3 separate regions of the Homo sapiens genome follow, and regions 2 and 3 are each linked to region 1. The links are contacts of gene promoters, found by promoter capture Hi-C in blood cells and fetal thymus (Javierre and others, 2016). All regions are on one chromosome and are shown on one strand. Each heading gives the region's core, a stretch centred on a gene start or on the middle of the fragment in contact. The rest is flanking DNA. Distances are from core to core; before and after follow the strand shown.

The links. The method cuts DNA at HindIII sites, captures the fragments that hold promoters and counts their contacts. A CHiCAGO score of 5 or more calls a contact.
Region 2: a fragment that was not itself captured here is called in contact with the fragment with the promoter of MRPL52 in region 1 in 1 of 17 cell types (erythroblasts); the score reaches 5.3 in erythroblasts.
Region 3: a contact is called between a fragment that was not itself captured here and the fragment with the promoter of MRPL52 in region 1, in 3 of 17 cell types (endothelial precursors, M2 macrophages and M0 macrophages). The highest score is 6.8, in endothelial precursors.

Annotation. Positions count from the first base shown.
Region 1 is chr14:22,828,125-22,831,435 of GRCh38, forward strand. It overlaps MRPL52 (mitochondrial ribosomal protein L52), which reads left to right and starts at 1,763. Exons shown (of 5, transcript NM_180982.3): 1 at 1,763-1,816; 2 at 1,929-1,986; 3 at 2,063-2,130. The coding sequence starts at 1,789. RefSeq lists an enhancer at 1,667-1,746. The HindIII fragment of the contact is 15,350 bases long and covers 1-3,311 here.
Region 2 is chr14:22,983,775-22,987,085 of GRCh38, forward strand. It overlaps C14orf93 (chromosome 14 open reading frame 93), which reads right to left. Exons shown (of 7, transcript NM_021944.4): 7 at 2,120-3,311. It overlaps AJUBA-DT (AJUBA divergent transcript), which reads left to right and starts at 550. Exons shown (of 3, transcript XR_007064074.1): 1 at 550-1,046. RefSeq lists a silencer at 2,957-3,066. The HindIII fragment of the contact is 743 bases long and covers 1,173-1,915 here.
Region 3 is chr14:22,689,225-22,692,535 of GRCh38, forward strand. No RefSeq gene overlaps it. Among named protein-coding and RNA genes, the nearest start is that of OR6J1, 47 kb to the left of the region's middle. The HindIII fragment of the contact is 439 bases long and covers 1,491-1,929 here.

The DNA of each region.
Region 1 (3,311 bases), core at 513-3,012:
TGAAGACATGTGCCCAAGGTGGTCCGGGCGTAGCTTGGTTTTATACATTTTAGGGAGACATGAAAATGTAAGAAGTCACATTAGTTCTGTCCAGAAAGGCAGAGACAGCTCAAAGCAAGGCCCCCTCACTGGGGGCCCCCAGGTCACATGTAGGTGAGAGACAGATGGTTGCATTATTTTGAGTTTCTGACAAGTCTTTCCAGAAGAGGTAGTCAGAATATGCATCTGTCTCTGTGAGTAGACAGATGACTTTGGATAGAATTGGAGGCAGATTTGCCCTGAGTGGTTCCCAGGTTCTCAGCTTGAAGAGGACCAAGATATTTTCCCTTCACACCTGGCAGACAGTTAATGGGCTCTTTTGTAGGAGTTTCAGGATTTATAAAGCACTTTCACTCACATTATCACTTTTAGATCGTTTTCACAAATGTAACATATTAAGCATTTTTAAAATTAAAAAATGAAGGATAAATGACTTCTCCAAGACAGTACTGAATAGCAAGTGATAAAAGGAGGGGAGTCGCCAATCAGGGTTTGCCACTTTCTAGTACCTACCTCACAGGGTTGTTGCAAGGATAATATTAAGCAATGTGCGGTGGTAGCACTTATAAAAATGGAATGTCACATCTTAGCTCCAATACAATACCCCTTTCTCAGGAAAGTCATCTTTGATGGTCTACTGTAGATCAAGTTCACACTATAAACTCACAAACAACATGTATTTCCTTTCCCAGCACTCAATGACAATATTCATGTATGTCATCATTTGATTGTCTGTTTTTTTTTTTTTAGTTGGAGTTTCACTCTTCTTGCCCAGACTGGAGTACAATGGCGCAATCTTGGATCACCACAACCTCTGCCTCCCGGGTTCAAGCAATTCTCCTGCCTCAGCCTCCCGAGTAGCTGGGATTACAGGCATGTGCCACCATGCCTGGCTAATTTTGTATTTTTAGTAGAGACAGGGTTTCTCCATGTTGGTCAGGCTGGTCTCGAACTCCCAACCTCAGGTGATCCGCCAGCCTCAGCCTCCCAAAGTGCTGGGATTACAAGTGTGAGCCACTGCACCTGGCCTGTCTTGTTTCTTTTATACCGAGAGCTCTATCAGGATATTGATGTCTGGTTTTGTTCTCCATAAAATCTACGCCTAATACAGCACTTATCACACAGAATTTTTTTTGAGACAAGGTCTCGCTCTGTTACCCAGACTGGAGTGCAGTGGCATGATCTCTGCTTACTGCAGCCTTCGGCCTCCCAGGCTCAAGCCATCCTCCCACCTCAGCCTCCCAAGTAGCTGGGACCACAGGCATGCGCCACCACACCCAGCTAATTTTTCATTTTTTTGTAGAGAGGGAGTTTCGCCATGTTGCCCAGGCTGGCCCAATTTCCGATTAACTCTAGATTTGATTACTTTTCTTAGTCTAGGAAAACTGTGTTACAGTGATGCGAGGATCTGTAGAATGACGTGGATGTTACCCCTGAGATCAAAGTTACTATTAATATCAATTTCAATGAACTAGAGACCGCTGTAGGGAGGTTGTGGGAACTGTTCAGAACGGCTTAATCTGGGAGGACACGACTTCCACTGAGAATGCATGCGCTGAACGACAATTCGTTTTCACCTCAAAAACCTGTACTGCAGTTTTGTCTCTCCTTCCGTACGATGACCCAAGATGGCGGAGCCGTGATTGAAAACCCAGATTCAAGATGGCGACTTCCTGCTTCCCCGATAGCGTCGCGCGTGGCCACCGAGGCCACGCCTACTTCCGGCTACCCCGGCTACTCCTGCTCAGCATGGCTGCTTTAGGGACTGTTCTCTTCAGTGAGTGGGTATAGATAGGGACCGTGGACTCGGGGGCCCTTTGGGGACGGGCACAGGACCCCTGATCCGGCTGCGCGGCCTCTCCCCCAACTCTGCTCTGTTCTCCCAGCAGGTGTCCGGAGGCTGCACTGCAGCGTAGCCGCTTGGGCGGGCGGCCAGTGGCGACTACAGTGAGTCCTGGGATGAGGGCACCTGGGGGACCAGAAGCTGGGCTAGGTCCTCACAGATCTGTTTTTCTCCACACAGGCAGGGACTGGCTGCCAACCCCTCCGGCTACGGGCCCCTTACCGAGCTCCCAGACTGGTCATATGCGGGTAAGCGCTGATCTGGCAGTTAACTCCACTGGGGAGATTTTCACCTAGAGGGAACGCCCCTGGACGGGGAGCTGGGGGTATCAAGGTGGGGGCGTGTAAAAGTGTTTAACTTTTTATTTGGAAAACGGAATTTGGGGAAAGAAACCCTCTTGTTTATTTTGTAGATTGCATTTCGACTAAGGAAGGTAAAGCTAAACAGGATCTTGGCTTGTGGAGATAAGCAGAAGATAATTCTGACTTGGGGCCGCCAGGGTGGAAGGGGGTGACAAGACTTCTGCGTTTTTCAAAGGGGGACATTTTTTTTTAACCAAGAACCACTTTTCTCTGTGGTTAGTGAATTTTCAGTATTTGGTACCAAATGCAGGGAGAGCTCTTTGAAAAGCTGCAGAAATAAGCGTCTCAGAGGGGTAGAAGGATGAAGACTATGGATGGCAGGCTCCCTTCAGAAAATTCTTTTACCTTTACTTACAAAAGAGAGAGGGAGGGAGAATAAATATTAGCCCTAGAAGGGAGAACCTTAGAGAAGTTGAAGCTACTCCCCATTCTCCTTATGAGACTCCAGTGTACAAGTAGGAAATTTGAGGCCTACAGAAGTGAATTGCACATGATCATACAGCTAGGTAGTAGCAAATCCAGGACTAGAACATAGGCCAGTCCTCCTTGACAACACAGAGATCTGAATATTTAATACCCTATTGTTGCTCTCTAGGGGTATGATCCTGCTTAATTGGATAATTGGTGACTGAGGAAGATGGTGAAGATTTTTTCTACTTGTTATTTACTGTAAGAAGCCTGGCATCTCCTTGTAGTAGTATGGACTATTGGAAAGACTCTGGAATTACATATGACTGCTTTTTTTTTTTTTTTTTTTTTTTTGAGATGGGGTCTTGCCCTGTCACCCAGGCTGAAGTGCAGTGGCATGATCATCGCTCACTGCAGCCTTGATCTCCTGGGCTCAAGCAGTCCTCCCACCTCAGCCCCCCAAGTAGGTGGGACCACAGGCACACACCACCATTCCTGGCTAATTTTTTTTTTTAACTTTTAGTAGAGACAGGCTCTTGCTATGTTGCCCAAGCTGGTCTTGTACTCCTTAGCTCAAGTGATCCACTTCAGCCTCCCAAAGTGCTGGGATTACAGGCATGAGCCACCACGCCCAGCCTATGGACCTTATTCTTAATCCA
Region 2 (3,311 bases), core at 294-2,793, 160 kb after region 1:
AGGCGGGCGGATCACTTGAAGTCAAGAGTTCAGACCAGCCTGGCCAACATGGTGAAGCCCTATCTCTACTAAAAATACAAAAATTAGCCAGGCGTGGTGGCGCACGCCTATAGTCCCAGCCACTCGAGAGGCTGAGGCGGGAGAATCGCTTGAACCCGGGAGACAGAGGTTGCAGTGAGCCAATATCACGGCCACTGCACTCCAGCCTGGGCGACAGAGCAAGACTCCGTCTCAAAAAAATTCTCAAAAATAAATAATAATTTTTTTTAAAGAAACCCTAGATGAAGCTAAACATACCTAATTAAATACCAGCCAACGGCCGGGAGCGGTGGCTCACGCCTGTAATCCCAGCACTTTGGAAGGCAGAGGCGGCGGGATCACGAGGTCAGGAGTTTGCAACCAGCCTGGCCAGTATGGTGAAACCCCGTCTCTACTAAGAATACAAAAATTAGCCGGTGTGGTGGCGTGCACCTGTAGTCCCAGCTACTTGGGAGGCTGAGGCAGAAGAATCGCGTGAACCCAGGAGGCGGAGGTTGCAGAGAGCCGAGATTGTGCCATTGCACTCAGGCCTGGGCGATAGAGGGAGATTCCGTCTCAAAAAAATTTTTTAAAAACCAGCCAACTACTTTTGCCCAGACTAAAACATCAGGGGCAAGGGGTGGAGGAAGTAGAATGGAGAAGGAAAATGACTCCTTTGTATTTAGATAGTAAATGAGTATGAAAATTATATGCAAACAAGTCATGCATATTATTTTCATCTCAACATTTTGAACACCTTTTATAATCTTAGTGTAGCCTTAGGGAATGTGGAAAGAAACGAGGTTAATATCTTTTGGGAAATTAATTTGTGCCAAACTATTTGGCTTCTTCGTCCTAGTTGCATTGTCTCCCTGACCTCATCTCCCCTGAGAATCAGCCTCTGTTTCCCTGGTCAAGGCCACGGCTTTTCTCTGATCCTGAGGAGAGTTTCCTACCAGAGTGGAAGCAGGGAGGACTGAAAGCACTAGGAACAGAGGGGAGCTATCGGATTGCATCTAGAACCTGCTGTGAGCAACATCTTCAGAATTAACCATAATGTGTTCCCTCCTTTCCTGTGTCCAGATGAGGAAGGAGAACTTTGATTCTTCCTTCCAATTACATCCAAAATATCCACACAACTACTAATATTTGGAAGCTTTGATCCTTTGGGGTGAGGATGCGAGAGGAAATCTTATGAAATGTTGGGAGGCCATTAAAGGAGGCCCATGCAAGAGTTGGTGGTAGCAATGGGCACAACTGGGATGAACAGCCTGTGTTTTCAAGGGATAACTGGAAGCAGAGATGAGTGAAGGGGAAGAAGTAGAAGACGCATATGCTAATAGGGCATGCTCCAATAGTGCTCATGACCTCAGGTGGCCTCTCCACAGTCTAAACTGGAGCTGGGATCTCCAAAGGCCCTCTTCGTTCCCAAGACTTTAATTATAATCTGTATATGCAGGTGACTCCCTAATCCATATTTCCAGCCCAGTCTTTCTTGGAATTAAAAACTCAACTAACTACTAGCATCTCCAATGGCTGTCTCAGAAGCACCCAATATCCTAAACTGATCTCATCTTCTCTGCCTCATGAAACTGGCTCCTCTAACATTCTCTGAGTAAATGGCACAATCCTGTTAGCTGCTTAAACTAGAAATCTGAGCGTCAACCCTATGTCCTCCTTCTCCCTTAACCTCAAATCCAACCAAGTCCTATCAATCACCAAGTTCTATTAATTCTGCTTCCTAAACATCTTCCAAATCTGTCCTCCCCTCATCACCACTATATATGTCAAGTCACCGTCTTTCCTCTCCGAAACCAATGCAAAAGTCTCCTGGCCAAGGCTTGCTCCCTGCAATCCATCTTATACCCTGAGGTCAAGTGATTTTTTTCAGTACAGAAGCTTTACGACTTACAATGGAGTTATGTCTGAATAAACCCATCCATTATAAATTGAAAATATCGTAAGGCAGAAGTGCTTCTTCAACTTCACCATATTTTCAGCTTAAAATGGGTTTATCTGATATAACTGCATCATAAGGTGAGGAGCATACTGAATCATTTCGCACCATCGTAAAGTTGAAAAATCCTAAGTCGAACCATCGTTGAGTTGGGGACTGCCTGTAGGCAAAACCTGTCGTTTTATTTCCCTGCTAAAACAAACTTTCAATGATTTCTCACTGCCCTTGGGTTGAAGTCTGTACTCTGTATTATGAGGTCTGTCTCACTCTCCAGCCTCTCCTCTAGCATTATCCCTTCCCCAAAAGTCTGCAGTAGAACTGGACCTTGTCTGTACTCTCTCTTGCCCCTGGACTTTTGTACCTGCAGTTCCCTGTTTGGAACACTCTCTTAGCCTCCCCTTTCCTTCTGGTTAACTCTTCCCCAGTTTAGACATTACACCCTCTCAGAAGAAGCCTTTCCAGACTGCAAGAGTAGGTTAGCTACCCCTGCTGTATATTGCCATAGTGCACTACACTCCACCATGGTCACCCTTATCACAGTTCATTTCATTGCCTACTCCACTGCCTGGCTTCCTGACTAAACTAAAAAAATCTCTGAACAGCATCCAACCTTATCAACAATGTATCCATAGCACAGTACCTGACACCTAGTAAAGCGATCAATGTTTGTTATAAGACTGAATAAATGTAAAGCCATTTTTGCTTTTCAATCCATCCAAAATGCACACCCCTTCCTCAAAATACAGCTTGGCTGACAGGACCAAGAAACAGCTACAAAGCTGTGTATTTTGCTTGGTCACATAGTGAGAGAGAGGCTGCCGGTGAGACACGGGAACTCTTTAAGCCTTAATTTCCTCATCTGTAAGATAGGAATAGTAAAATTTTCCTCATGTAATTCAATAAACAATAGCTATTATATCAGGAACCCAATTCCCCAATAGTGATAGAACTTGTGTTCCCTTGGTCAGAAGACTCAAGCTCATGACTGAAACTGCCCACCAGGTGGCGGTATTAACCTGCACTGGTCATGTTCGGTTTCCACTGCAGAGCAAGACAAGTAGTCACAGGGAAGCAAAAGGTACAACCTGGGCTGCTTCCTCAGAGCTTTGGGTGGAACTGGGCAGGGGCAGAAACAACTCAGAGACAGGGCATATGTCAAGAAGGCCTCATGTTTCTTGGACCCATCCTCCTCATTTTCTCATCCCAGGCTTCTCCGAGATACTGTTTATGCTGAGGAATAAGCATATTCTGGCTTACTGTTCACAGTGGAGGGAGTTTCTCCCCTTCTAGATAAGTTTTTATCCCACCAGTGTTCTGCTTCCCCAGTAGAGACTGT
Region 3 (3,311 bases), core at 460-2,959, 140 kb before region 1:
AAATAGATAGACCACTAGCCAGACCATGCATTCAGACCATACCAACAGCTTTATAAGTTCTCTGGTACAATCTTGCCTGGTATGCATGCCCTTGAGTAATCCCTTTCACACTGAATGGGGCTGACTCATATAAGCAACAGGATATTGAGGATATGATGGTGTGTGCATTTCAAAGTTAGGTCATAAAAGTCATTGCACCTTCCAACTTGCTGTCTCTCAGATCACTCGCTCTGAAGGAAGCCAGCTGCCATGTCATGAGTCATGTAAGCAGCCCTGTGGAGAGTATTACTGTAAGTGAGCAAAATTCCTCACCTGTTATTTAAAGTAGATAAATCAAATTGCTTAAAGTAGATAAATCAAGAAATAGTAGTATAAACATATTATTTTGGAATAGTAGATATAACCACCTGTAATCCCAGCACTTTGAGAAGCTGAGGTGAGCAGATTGCTTGAGGTCAGGAGTTTGAGACCGGCCTGGGCAACATGACAAAACCCTGTCTCTCCAAAAAAAAAAAAATTAGATGGGTGTGGGTGCATGCACCTGTAATCCTAGCTATTTGGGAGACTGAGGTGGGCGGATCACTTGAGCCCACCAAGTCGAGGCTGCAGTGTGCTGAGATCACACCACTGCACTGCAGCCTGCATGACAGAGCAAGACCCTGTCTCAAAAAAAAAAAAAAGAATAGTACACATAACTAACACATGAATTTAAAACAAAATGGTGAAAAAATAATAAAATAATAATTTATTTAATTGATATAATCAATAAAAATTCCATTTGATATTAATAGTAATGGCAGCTCTACAGGTGAGACTATCAGAGATATCGTGGGACAAAATAGAAGGTAAAGGAAGGAAACTAACTATATTAAGCACCTATTTTGTGAGTAAAATGAGGTTCTGAGAGAAAGGGTAACCCAGCCAGCAGATTGCAGAGCCAGTGTATACATCCATATTTATCTGACTGTAAGGTCAAAGTCTTTTCCACTGTATCAAGTAATTGACCAAGAGACACTAGCTCTCAGAGCAGCAGAATGTTGCCACATTTTTATTGACAAAGAATTAATAACATAAATTATGTTTATATTGCAAAGTTTATTTAGGGAAATTTGATACTCCTTTTTACATTTTACATAAATTTATTGAGTTATAACACTGCCTGATGCCAGGTAAAGCAAATACACATCTGGGTTCAGAGACTCACGTGTGCAACAAATTTAACTTTCTGGATATTTTAAAAACTCAGCTTAATTTCCCTAGGTGCCTCATTAGCCTGATGGCAGAAATTAAATCTCAGGCAATTCTGGGTTCTCCCACAAGTACACTTTTCTTCAGAGTTGTGCTGAAGTTCTGAGGAGGATGGGAAGGGACTAGGAAATGGCCAGTCCTTTGCCCATCTATCCTCTGGCATTCTCCCACCCTGTCCCAGGTTGTCAGTCCACACAGGTGGCTGGTGCATCACTCCTCATTCTTCTCAGTGAGGTCCTTGAAGCTTGGGCAGCTCTCCCTGCTACTTCTTTACCTCTCTCAGGCACTCTATACCTCATTACTCTATTTCTGCACCTCTGAGCTGCAGAAAACTCCTTGATGCTCTTGAAAATCCCACCTGCCTAGAAACTTTATGTAGCCTCTTCTCCTCTGTGGTATTGCCATTGCCTGAAGGCCCTTTCCAGAAAGCAAATCACAAGTTTTTTCTGTTCTCAGACCCACAACTCTATGTGTGGTTCTATCATTTCCCCTTTCAGACTTGGCCAGGAATTAGGAAAGGCAAAGCACTATGCCCCTTTCTGGAGCCCCATTAGCTCTGAACTGTCCTTTCTTCTCTTTCAAGTCTCCTCTTTCTCCCTAGTGTGCAGAATCTGAGGAAGTAAAAAGGCATGTTCTGACCCATCAGCTTTTTTCCACTCCATGAGTCTTAAACTTCAGAAAAGCTTTACTCTTCCTTCTGCATCATTTCTTTCCCAGTCTACCTACCCAAATTGAGAGGAATAAGAAATACTCATAAAAAATCATGGTTTTCCACACAGTGGCTTATCAAAACAAAATCATGGTTAACATTTCAATCTATATGATGTCACCATATAAGTACTTGTGCCAGATGCTGGAAATACAAAGAAAAATGTGATTAAATTCCTGCTGTCAGGATGTGTCCAGGGTCACATTGTTAGTAGGCGGATACAAAGAAAAAAACAGAAGTGATGATACAGTATTTAGTGCAATATCAGAACTATTTATAGACAAGAGAAGTATGATTGGGTGGAGGGAAGGGGGAAGTACTTAGAAAAGTTTTCCAATGGAAAACTCAACCTGCTTTTGGCCAAGGTCGGGAAAACATTTCAAGTAGGAAGAACAGCATATGCAAAGGCGTGGGAGCCCAAGAGAATGTGATAACTTTCATAACACATGCAGGTTTGTTACATGGGTGAATTGTATGGTGCTAAGGTTTGGGGTATGACTGAACCCAGCACCCAGGTAGTGAGCATAGTACCTGATAGGTAGTTTTTCCACCCTCTCCCCCACTCCCTACCTCCCCTATCTTGTAGTCCCCAGTGTCTATTTTTTCCATCTTTTTGTCCATGTGTACCCAATATTTAGCTTCTACATATAAGCGAGATCATGCGATATTTGGTTTTCTGTTTCTGCTTTAATTCACTTAGGATAATGCCCTTCAGTTGCATACATGTTGCTGCAGAAAACTATGATTTCATTCTTTTTAATGGCTGCATAGCATTCTTTGTTATATAGGTACCATATTTTCTTTATCCAATCCACTGTCAGTGGGCACCTAGGTTGACTCCATGTCCTTGCTATTGTGAGTAGTGCTGCAATGAACATGCAAGCACATGTCTTTTTGGTAAAACAGTTTATTTTCTCTTGGATATATACCCAGTAATGGGATTGCTGGGTTGAATGGTAGTTCTGTTATAAGTTCTTTGAGAAATCTTTAAAAAACTTTCCACAGTGACTGAACTAATTTACATTCTTACCAACAGTGTGTAAGTGTTCCATTTTCTCTGCAGCCTCACCAGCATCTGTTGTTTTTTGGCTTTTTAATATAGCCTTTCTGACTGGTATGAGATAGTATCTCTTTGTGGTTTTGATCTGAATTTCTCTGATAATTAGTGATATTGAGCATTTTTTCATGTTTGTTGGCTGCTTGAAAGTCTTCTTTGGAGAAGTGACTGTTCATGTCTTTTGCCCATTTTTTAATTGGGTTATTTATTTTTTGCTTGTTGAATTAAGTTTCTTATAGAATCTGGATATTAGATCTTTGTTGGCTGCACAGTTTGTGAATAGTTTCTCCCATTCTG